Linked DNA regions of Homo sapiens: region 1 is linked to region 2. Evidence: promoter capture Hi-C in human tissues and cell types (Jung and others, 2019). All regions are on one chromosome and are shown on one strand. The core of a region is centred on a gene start or on the middle of the fragment in contact, and the rest is flanking DNA. Distances in the headings are between cores, read along the strand shown.

Region 1 (4,015 bases), core at 112-2,611, 40 kb before region 2:
ACTCGGGCTGCTTCCAGTTTGGGGTGACTGTGACTAAAGCTGCTCCGAACACTCTTGTGGGGTTTTGTGTGAGCATCGGTGCTTCTCTCCCATAAGTAAACACCTCACCGTGGAAGGTCTGTGTTGTGTGGCGTGTGTTTTACTGCCACGCGGTTTCCCACCCCAGCTGCTGTCTGCATTCCCGCCTGACTGGGCATTTTACCTTTCACTCAACACATTCCCATCGGGCACCCACCCAGGCCAGGCGCGGTGCTCCCAGTGACGGAAATGGCCAGGATGAACGAGCTCTGCCCTCCTGGGCCCTCCTGGGCCCTCCTGTCCTGTGGGCAGCAGGCAAGAAACCAGGCAGCCTGGGGACACGCGGGACCATCTGGCTGTTGGCAAGGGCTCCAAGGGCATGAATTAGGGCAATGCTAACAGGGTGACTGGGGCGGGCCTTGCTGAGGTGAGTTTGAACCGAGATTAAGGCAGAGGGGCCATCCCATCCAAGATCCGGGGGAAGGGTTTCCAGGCGGGGGCCCAGCAGGTGCCAAGGCCCCGAGGTAGGTGAATCGTGTTATTATGCTGTGACTCAGCGACTTTTTGGATGAATGCTGAGTTCCAGGGACCTGCTAGAAACCTTACAGTCATCCCCTGTTCAATCCTCACAGCAGTCCTACGCAGGAGGGGCTACTGTCGCCCCCAGCTTACAGCAGAGCCACTCAGGTTCAGAGAGGTTGTCACCTGTCTCGCTGCACAGGCCACGCGGGGCAGAGCCAGCACTTGAACCCGGCGGGACTCATGGAAGTGCGCTGAACACCTGGATTCCCACCTCAGCTCGAATCCCTGCCTGCAGTCCTGCTGTGTGGCCCTGGGCAGGTCACAGGTCCTCTCTGAGCTTCCGCTTTCCCGTCTGTAAAACCGGGCTGGCGCTGCTGGCCTCGCAGCCCGCCGTAAGCATCCTGTGGGATGAGGTGTGAAAATGTCCTGGAACGGTGGGGCCCTTGCACGGTGGGGTGGGCACGCACCCATTCCGCCCCGAAGGGCCGTAGCCAGCCAGGCCCCCTCCTCGGCCCGCCGCGGGACTGCGCTGCCGCCAGGCGCCGACAGAGGGCAGGAGCGGCCCGCGCCCAGCGGCCGAGAGCGCACGGCAGGGCTGGCAGGGGCGGCCCCGGCGAGGCGCAGCGCGGGCGGGAGCCCGAATGTGGTCTCAGGACTGCGGCAAACACCTGTCGGACTGTCTGGGACGCACGACCTAGGGACACGGACCCAGTGCACGGTGTGGGGGAGGAGGTTAGCGAGGGATCCTGGGCCCACCCGTCTCCGGGCTACCCCACCCCTACCCCGCCAGTCCCCGCCATCCAGCGAGGTGCCCCGGGAGTCTCTCCGGGAGAGCGCTGGCCCCGGGTCTGCGAAGAGCCGGCCTGGGGGGCAGGGCCTTAGGCTCAAAGGCCGCCACGTCCCCACGTGGCTCTGAGCACCGGTGATGTGGCCGTCCAAGATGAGATATACCCAGGGCCCAGTACACCCCAGCTTCCAAAGGCCTTCTGTGACAAAGAGAGACTAAACAATCACACTTATCACCTTTTGTATTGAGCTGAAATAGTAATATTTTGGATCTACTGGGTTAAATAAAATATGAAAATTAATTTCATTTTTTCTTTTTAAAATTGTGGCTAAGATATAAAATTAGGTAGATGGCTCTCACCTGCCGCTTGTGTTCTGTCTCTACAGGACAGGCCTAAGTTGGATGTCTGTGTTATCCCATGTAATCCCGTCCAACTCTCCCAGTGAGGCGTTTACTGTTATTACCTATCCCATTCTACAAACGGGGAAGCTGAGGCGCTGAGCAGTGATGTGACTTGCTCAGGGTGGGTTATGGGCACACACCCAGCAGTGCCCACCCCATGCCCATGTGTACCACACACAAATATTCATAACACATGCAGGGGCCCAGACTGTCAGTGCCAGAGTCCACGGGTAAGATGGAGAGACCCTGAACACAAACACGCTGCCAGCCTCCCAGCTCATACACAAGCGTCACCTGTGCACACCCAGTCTTGTGACAGCGTCAGGAGCACACACATCCACACTGCTGTTCCCAGACCCCCTGCTCACGCCCATGCACACACACCTACAGGTGTGCTGGTCTTCGAGGCAGGCAGTGTGGCCAGCCTCCCTCATGGCCCACAGTGCCATCCAGAAGACTGTATGGGGCCCTGCTGCTGACTGGCTGGTGGGCTCGAGACCCGCCAGACAGTCAGGCCCCTACTCACCTAGGGCTTGGAAAGGGGGCCCTGGCTGAGACTCCATCTGTGTCTGGGGGAGCCAGACCCGAGGGGAGTGAGTGGGCCTACGCGGAGCTCCTGCCCTCCCTGCGCCTGCCTGCCACCCTTCTGTTGAGGGCCCTTCCTCCTGGCTGCAGCCATTTGCATAAAGCTCCCAAGCCCAAGGATCACATTACATGGAGGCCTGATGATAATCTTTGTTGAAATAATATTTAACACATGCTGCACTTTTAATTAACTATCTGAATAATCTCAAATTAATACCAGAGCTTTAAAAATAAGTTTTCATTTTCGCGTTTGGTAACATAATAGCGGCCCGGCTGGCCCGTTTCCCCCTTCTTTGATTTAATTAAAAGCCCTTTTGTGTGTCTCTTGTCACTTCAGAAATGGACAAAAGCCCCCATGTGGGCCAGCCAGGGCTCCTGCTCGGGGTCCAGGTCTGAGGCCAGGGCCAGGGTCAGGGGTACTTAGGGGCCCTGAGGGCAGGTCCTCCACTGAAGCTCCCAGCCTGGCTCTGGCAGTGCCACTGAGGGAGGCCACACATCACACACACTTTTGCCCAGGGACACTGGGGCACGGTCACAGAGGCCAGCAGGCTGCCTCCCATGCATACAGACACACGCTAGAGGCAGGTGGCAATCTCCGTCCCTCGTCCATAACACACACCGGCCAGGCTCTGCAAACATGCCCACCAGACCCATGAGCCTCACGTACCTTCACGCATGCATGTGCACACACACAAAGTCACAGTCACATATACACCATTTGGGAATTGACAACCAGAGCCATTCTGGGCTTGGCATTAACAATTGGCATTCTAAGTCCAGATCCAAGAAACCTGGGGAGCTGCCTGGCCCCGGTGCATGACCCCTGCCCCAGAGTGTGTGATGTGTGTGTCTGTTGCTTCTCTCTCTCCCTGTCCTAACCTGTTGGTTCTGTCTCTGCACCTCTGTCGCAGGCTCAGGACCCCGAGGCCCGCCAGGTGGGCAGCCTCCTGGGGCTGGGTGTGTTTCCCCACTAAGTCTGCTTTCACTCGCAGGTTTCCTCCTGGACCTGAGGAGCAGGCAGGGGTCCTGGGGGCTTCTGCCTTGCCCCTGCCCTGGCAAGCCAAGCCCTCTTCTGAACCCGAGATAGACCAAGGGAAGCTTCCCCAGGCAAGCAGCCCCAGCCAGTCCAGCAGGGAAACTGAGTCCCTACGGAGGCTTAGTTTTCTCCAACAGGTCCAGGTTGCCAGGTGTCTCTCCACTTGGGGGGCCTGAGGCCTTGGGGAACTGTGTGGGAGGGGGTACAAGCCAGACCCACCACAGAGCCTGGAGTCTTGGCAGGGAAAAGTGGAGGTCCCTGGGAGGGTCTGTGCTTCCCGCTGAGGTCCTTGGAAAGCTGGGGGAGGGAGCTGTCGATTCCCCCAGCGACAGGGGCCAGCAGTGAGGCCGACCTGGCCAGGGGTGGAAGCAGCCACCACCTCCAGCTGACTCGTTCCATCGACAAACCCCAGGGAACTGGGTCTGTGCTGGATGAACATATTGGGCCCTGTGTCCTCGTGATATGGGTGGTGAAGGGGTCCCTGCCCTCATCTCACAGCCAGATGGGTGCAGAACATAGTGCTACTGGGAGGAGGCTGGGCAGACAGTGAGGGCACGCGGTGGAGGCAGGGTGAGCGGGGAGGCCACACGCAGGACGCTGTATCTGACACATCGTCAGAAGAGGGGCTCCCAGGGCTGCAATAAGCAAGGCAGCCTCCTGCCCCC
Region 2 (4,471 bases), core at 954-3,453:
TAACCACACCAATAAAGAGCCTAGATGTTTGGGTCACCAAGTCTTAACTAAAGATAGCCTTCCTGCCTGCCTTCTTTCCTTCCTCCCTTCCTCCCTCCCTCCTTCCCTCCTTCTTTCCCTTCCCTTCCCTTCCGTTCCCTGCCTTCCTTCCCTCCTCCCTCCCTCCCTTCCCCCTCCTTCCTTCATTTCCTCCTTCCTTCCTTCCTTCCTTCCTCCCTTTCTCCTTCCTTCCTTCTTTCTTTCCTTCCTCCCTCCCCTTCCCCCTTCTCCCTTCCCTCCCTTCTTCACTCCTGGCTTCTTTCCTTCCTCCTTCCTTCCTTCATTCCTCCCTTCTTCCTCCTCTTCCTTTTTCTAGTCTTCATCCCTTTCTATTATCCTCCCTCTCTCTCTTTTCTTTCAGTGCTCATGGGTGCTAGGTTTCAGGCTCCTAGCAGGGGACAGTGTGTGTTCTAACCAATCCCAAATGCCAGGAGGAATGGAGACAGACTGTAGAGACACTTTGTAAACCCAGCCTCCAGTGACCATCGCTGTCCCTCCATGCAGCTTATCAAAAGCACGACTCGCACCCCCATGCTGGGCATCCACCCACCTACACCTGCTGACACATGTGGCTTAGCAGAGGAGTTGAAGAGCAGAACTTCTCCACTGGATGTAGCTACAGATGAACCTGATTCTTTATCTCTGTGGCTGGATTTTTGTCACTATGTCTCGGTTAGCAGTTAGCACCTGCTGTCCCTTGCAGGCTTGTTCCTGGGGCGGGAGAAAGATGCTTGCCCTGCACAGTTCTCCATGATGGCGGTGGCAGTGGGAGAGGCACTGCTGTTGACTGTGTTGCTGGTGGGGAGAGGCACGGTGGGTGTCCATGGAGATGGATAAGGTGTCATTATATAGTAGAGGTGACCATGGGAGCAGTGTTGATGTGGAGGTAATGGTCATGGTGGGTGTGAGGGGGAGAGTAATTATGGGTGATGGTGGAGTTGATCATGATGATGGTGATGCTGGTGGTGACAGCAGCAAGGCTTGTGCTTGAGAGTAATTGATGATGGTAGTGGTGGTGGTGATGGTCATGCCAGAGGAGATGGTAACAGCGAGCCTTTGTTGTGGTTGGCAGTGATGGTGCAGGTATGATGAGGAGGTGATGGGAATGGCTCCTAGTGAGCCATTGGTGTGGTTGGCAGTGGTGACAGTAATGGTGATGATGAAGGTGAAGGTGGTGGAGGTAGCAGAGGTTGTATCTTGTTCGGCTATACCACAGTGACAGCTTCCACCTCTCAGTGGCTCACGACAAACATCTAGTTCCCCCCACTTCACTCACTGGTGCCTACAGGCAGCTGCCAGGGCCCCACCTCCCATAGCTTCTCACTGTGGGTCCCAGGCTGGAGAATCAGCTCTGACCTGCACACCCCTCTCTCATGACAGTGCCACTCAGAGACAGCAGGAACTTGGGCTGCCTCTGAAAGCTTCTGTTGGGCCATGATGTGTGGCAGTCTTGCTGCATCCCATGGTCAAGGCCAGTATCCATGGGGCAAAGAATGTTTCCTTCAGGAAGGTTCTGCAAATCTCAGGGCAATAGGAAGAGAGGCCTGAGATTCCCATGGGGAAGAGGGAGTGAGCAGTTCTCCAACATATGCCAGATGCTCAAGATGGGACTGACAGCGGGGCTGGTAACGATGGCTCTGCTGGGAGCAGTGTTGGTGCTGCTGGTGCCGGGGACACCCGTGGTGGTGATGGGATAGGAGGCAGGAATTGTGCTATTAATGGAGGATGGTGGTGAGGGTGGTTGTGGAAGAGGCAATGGTAGAGGGGGGTGCCGAGGGGTGAGAAGGACACAGTGGTGGACATGCTGGTGTGAGTGCCGATGGCGATGGTGATGGCACTGAGGTGTGGGGCTCTGTATTTTCTGTTGCTAACTTGGCATTACACCAACCTCTTCCATGGTCTCCTTGCATCCTGGAGAAATCTGAGGGATTTTCCAGAATCCCATCACCGGTATAATTCCAGACTAGAGCCTGCCAATACAAGGGATTTGGAGAGTGGAAAAGAGAGGCCGTTGCAGGCAGGTGACAATGGTGAGCTTTGCAACAGCTCGGGGCAATCTTCTGCGAAGACCCTGCTTCTGAGCCACAGGCTGAGGCATGGATGGGGAGCTTCCTGGAATACCGTGAGCTCCTCAGCAGCTCCCAGGCAAGCTCTAGAGAGCCGCTCACCTGGGAGCTGCAGGTGAGCATCTCGATTCCTTGTTCCCTGACCGCTGGTCCCAGACTGTTCAGGGTGCAGCGTGTAGTAAATGTCCTCCTCCTTGGTACACATTTGAGGGCTGTGTACTGTGAGGGTGATGGCGGCTCAGATGAAGGTGGTGGTTGTGATGGAGTTGGGTGTGAGGATAGCAGAGAGAAAGCAGATGGTGACATCAGGAAGGCATTGGAGGGGCAGTGGTGGTGGCAGTGATGATGGTGGCAGTCTAATTAGAGGCAGTGGTGGGTCTGGCTGAGGCAGACCCGGTGGTGGTGATGGTGGTGGTAGTAGAGGGGGCAATGACGGTGGTGATGGCAAAGGCGGTGTGAGTGGTTGATACTGGTGGCAGAGCTGATAAGGTGATGTCACAGATGGGATGGTGGGTGGAGATGGAGGTGGAGGAAGTGTGGTGACAGTGATGTGGTGGTGACACAATGCTGACACGGGTGGAGAGCACCGTGGTGACGGTGACAGAGATGATAGTGATAGTGGGGCTGGTGGCAGTGGTAGAGGAGATGGGGATGGGACGCTGGGGTGTTGATGGTGATGGTGACACTGCTGAGGGTGTTGGTGGCCTGACATTGTAAAGGTGAAGCCTGAAGTTTCCATGACGATGGAATCAGGACAGTGGAGGAGGGGTGGTGAAAACAATGTTAAGAGACAAAGGACCTAGTATGATGAGGCATCCAAGAATCCTGTGGCCGCCTCCCCGTCCTGGCCCTCCCTGCCTTGTTGGAGACCCTGGCTCTGGTCTGCGTTGTACTCCCAGGGGAAATTTCTTCCAGCCACTGCCCTGCTCCAACCCTTGTTCCTGGGATGGGTCTGTGGGAGTCAGCCAGGATGGAGACAGGGCTGGAGACCCCCTCACTGCCGCCCATTCAGGGCTGTCTTAGGGCACACAGAACAGACCACTCGGTAGGACTTACGGGAACAGGTGTGTCACCTGGGAGCAGGTCCCACACCTCACCATCAAGGGCATCCTGAGATGGAGGCCCCTGTGGGGAGCTCCCCATGAAGGGAGCTGTGGACCGTGGAGCCGGGCAGTGTGCAGAGGAGTTTCCCTTCTGCAAAGGGTTCAGGCTAGTCTCCTTCCACGCCAGTTTTTGGGGAGCCAGTGGGGAGCATCAGGGGCTCTGAGGCCTCCATAGGGCCTGCTGGAGGGACAGGGACACACAGGCATGAGCGCACACTTAGGCCCCACACGCTCCACCGTCAATTCTGTCAGGCCACCTCCCCTCTTCAAGCCTCTCTGTCCTCATTCACCAGTGGGTGCTTTTGGGGATTTGCCCTCTCTGGGGAGCCAGCCTAGGCTTCCTGGCCTCAGATGTCCCATGTCCCTCATCTCAGGCCCACCCTAAAGCCAACCCCGAGCCATGGCCAGGGAGAGAAGGACCTTCAGCGACCAAGCGAGGCCCAGAGAGGGCAGGGCACACCGAAGGTCACACAGCAGTACCAGGAAGGTCTCCCCCGGGCGAGCTGATGGAGCCGATTAAGCAGCCAATTGGTATTCGGAGCAGCCAGAGGCCCCTCTCTGTCTCTGTAATTAATGGAGTGGCTTTTTAAAAGGATTCTAATCACCCCCGATCCTATCTGCTTATCACTAGAGTTCCTAATTAGATGATCCTGGCAGTCACTCAGCTAATTCCCTCCAGCCCCCTGCAGGCCTGCCTGGCCTGGGCAGCCCACCCCACCCCCGGCCACCCTGGCCCGGCCAGATGGGCAGTTTGGGGCCTTCTCTCCCCTCAGGGCCCCTGGTCCTCTAACTGCATTAGCTCCAGGATGGATGGGCGACAGCGATGGATGGATGGACGGGCGGCTGGATGGACAGAGTGGCAGGCGAATGAAGGGGCTGAACGGTGGGCAGTCACAGAGTGGATGGGCGGATGGACAGACAGACGGGCCAAGGGGCAGATCCCACAGTGGGGAAGAGCTCAGCCTGTCAGGTGACACAGCCTGGGTTCCAACCCCAGCACTGCCACTCCCCAGCCATGTGTCCTTGGGGAAGTCAATAACCTGGCTGTGCCCCAGTGTCCTCATCTCATCTGTAAAAGGGAAGTAATGATGGTCCCCTCTCACAGGGTTACTGTGAGGAGCTCAGAATGGAGAAGGAGCTGTGTGTGCGTGTGCTGGCATCCTGGCAGTGTCGATAATGGGTGGGCAGAGACAGATGAAAGGGCAGCCTGCCTGGTGAGCCAGTGGAAGCCATGGTAGGCAGACAGGCCCATGGCAGGCTTAC

The links. Contacts are between HindIII fragments. The study calls those that stand out against the background at their distance.
Region 1: a fragment that was not itself captured here is called in contact with the fragment with the promoter of DNAJB8 in region 2 in 1 of the 25 tissues and cell types used here (IMR-90 fibroblasts).

The regions. Positions count from the first base shown.
Region 1 is chr3:128,425,413-128,429,427 of GRCh38, forward strand. It overlaps a transcript of EEFSEC not described here. Among named protein-coding and RNA genes, the nearest start is that of DNAJB8-AS1, 36 kb to the right of the region's middle. RefSeq lists enhancers at 798-997, 2,076-2,634, a cis regulatory region at 870-1,550 and silencers at 998-1,307, 1,338-1,387. The HindIII fragment of the contact is 9,653 bases long and covers 1-4,015 here.
Region 2 is chr3:128,464,687-128,469,157 of GRCh38, forward strand. It overlaps DNAJB8 (DnaJ heat shock protein family (Hsp40) member B8), which reads right to left and starts at 2,204. Exons shown (of 3, transcript NM_153330.6): 1 at 1,928-2,204; 2 at 590-750. The region is part of intron 2 of DNAJB8-AS1 (DNAJB8 antisense RNA 1); the gene reads left to right. The HindIII fragment of the contact is 25,608 bases long and covers 1-4,471 here.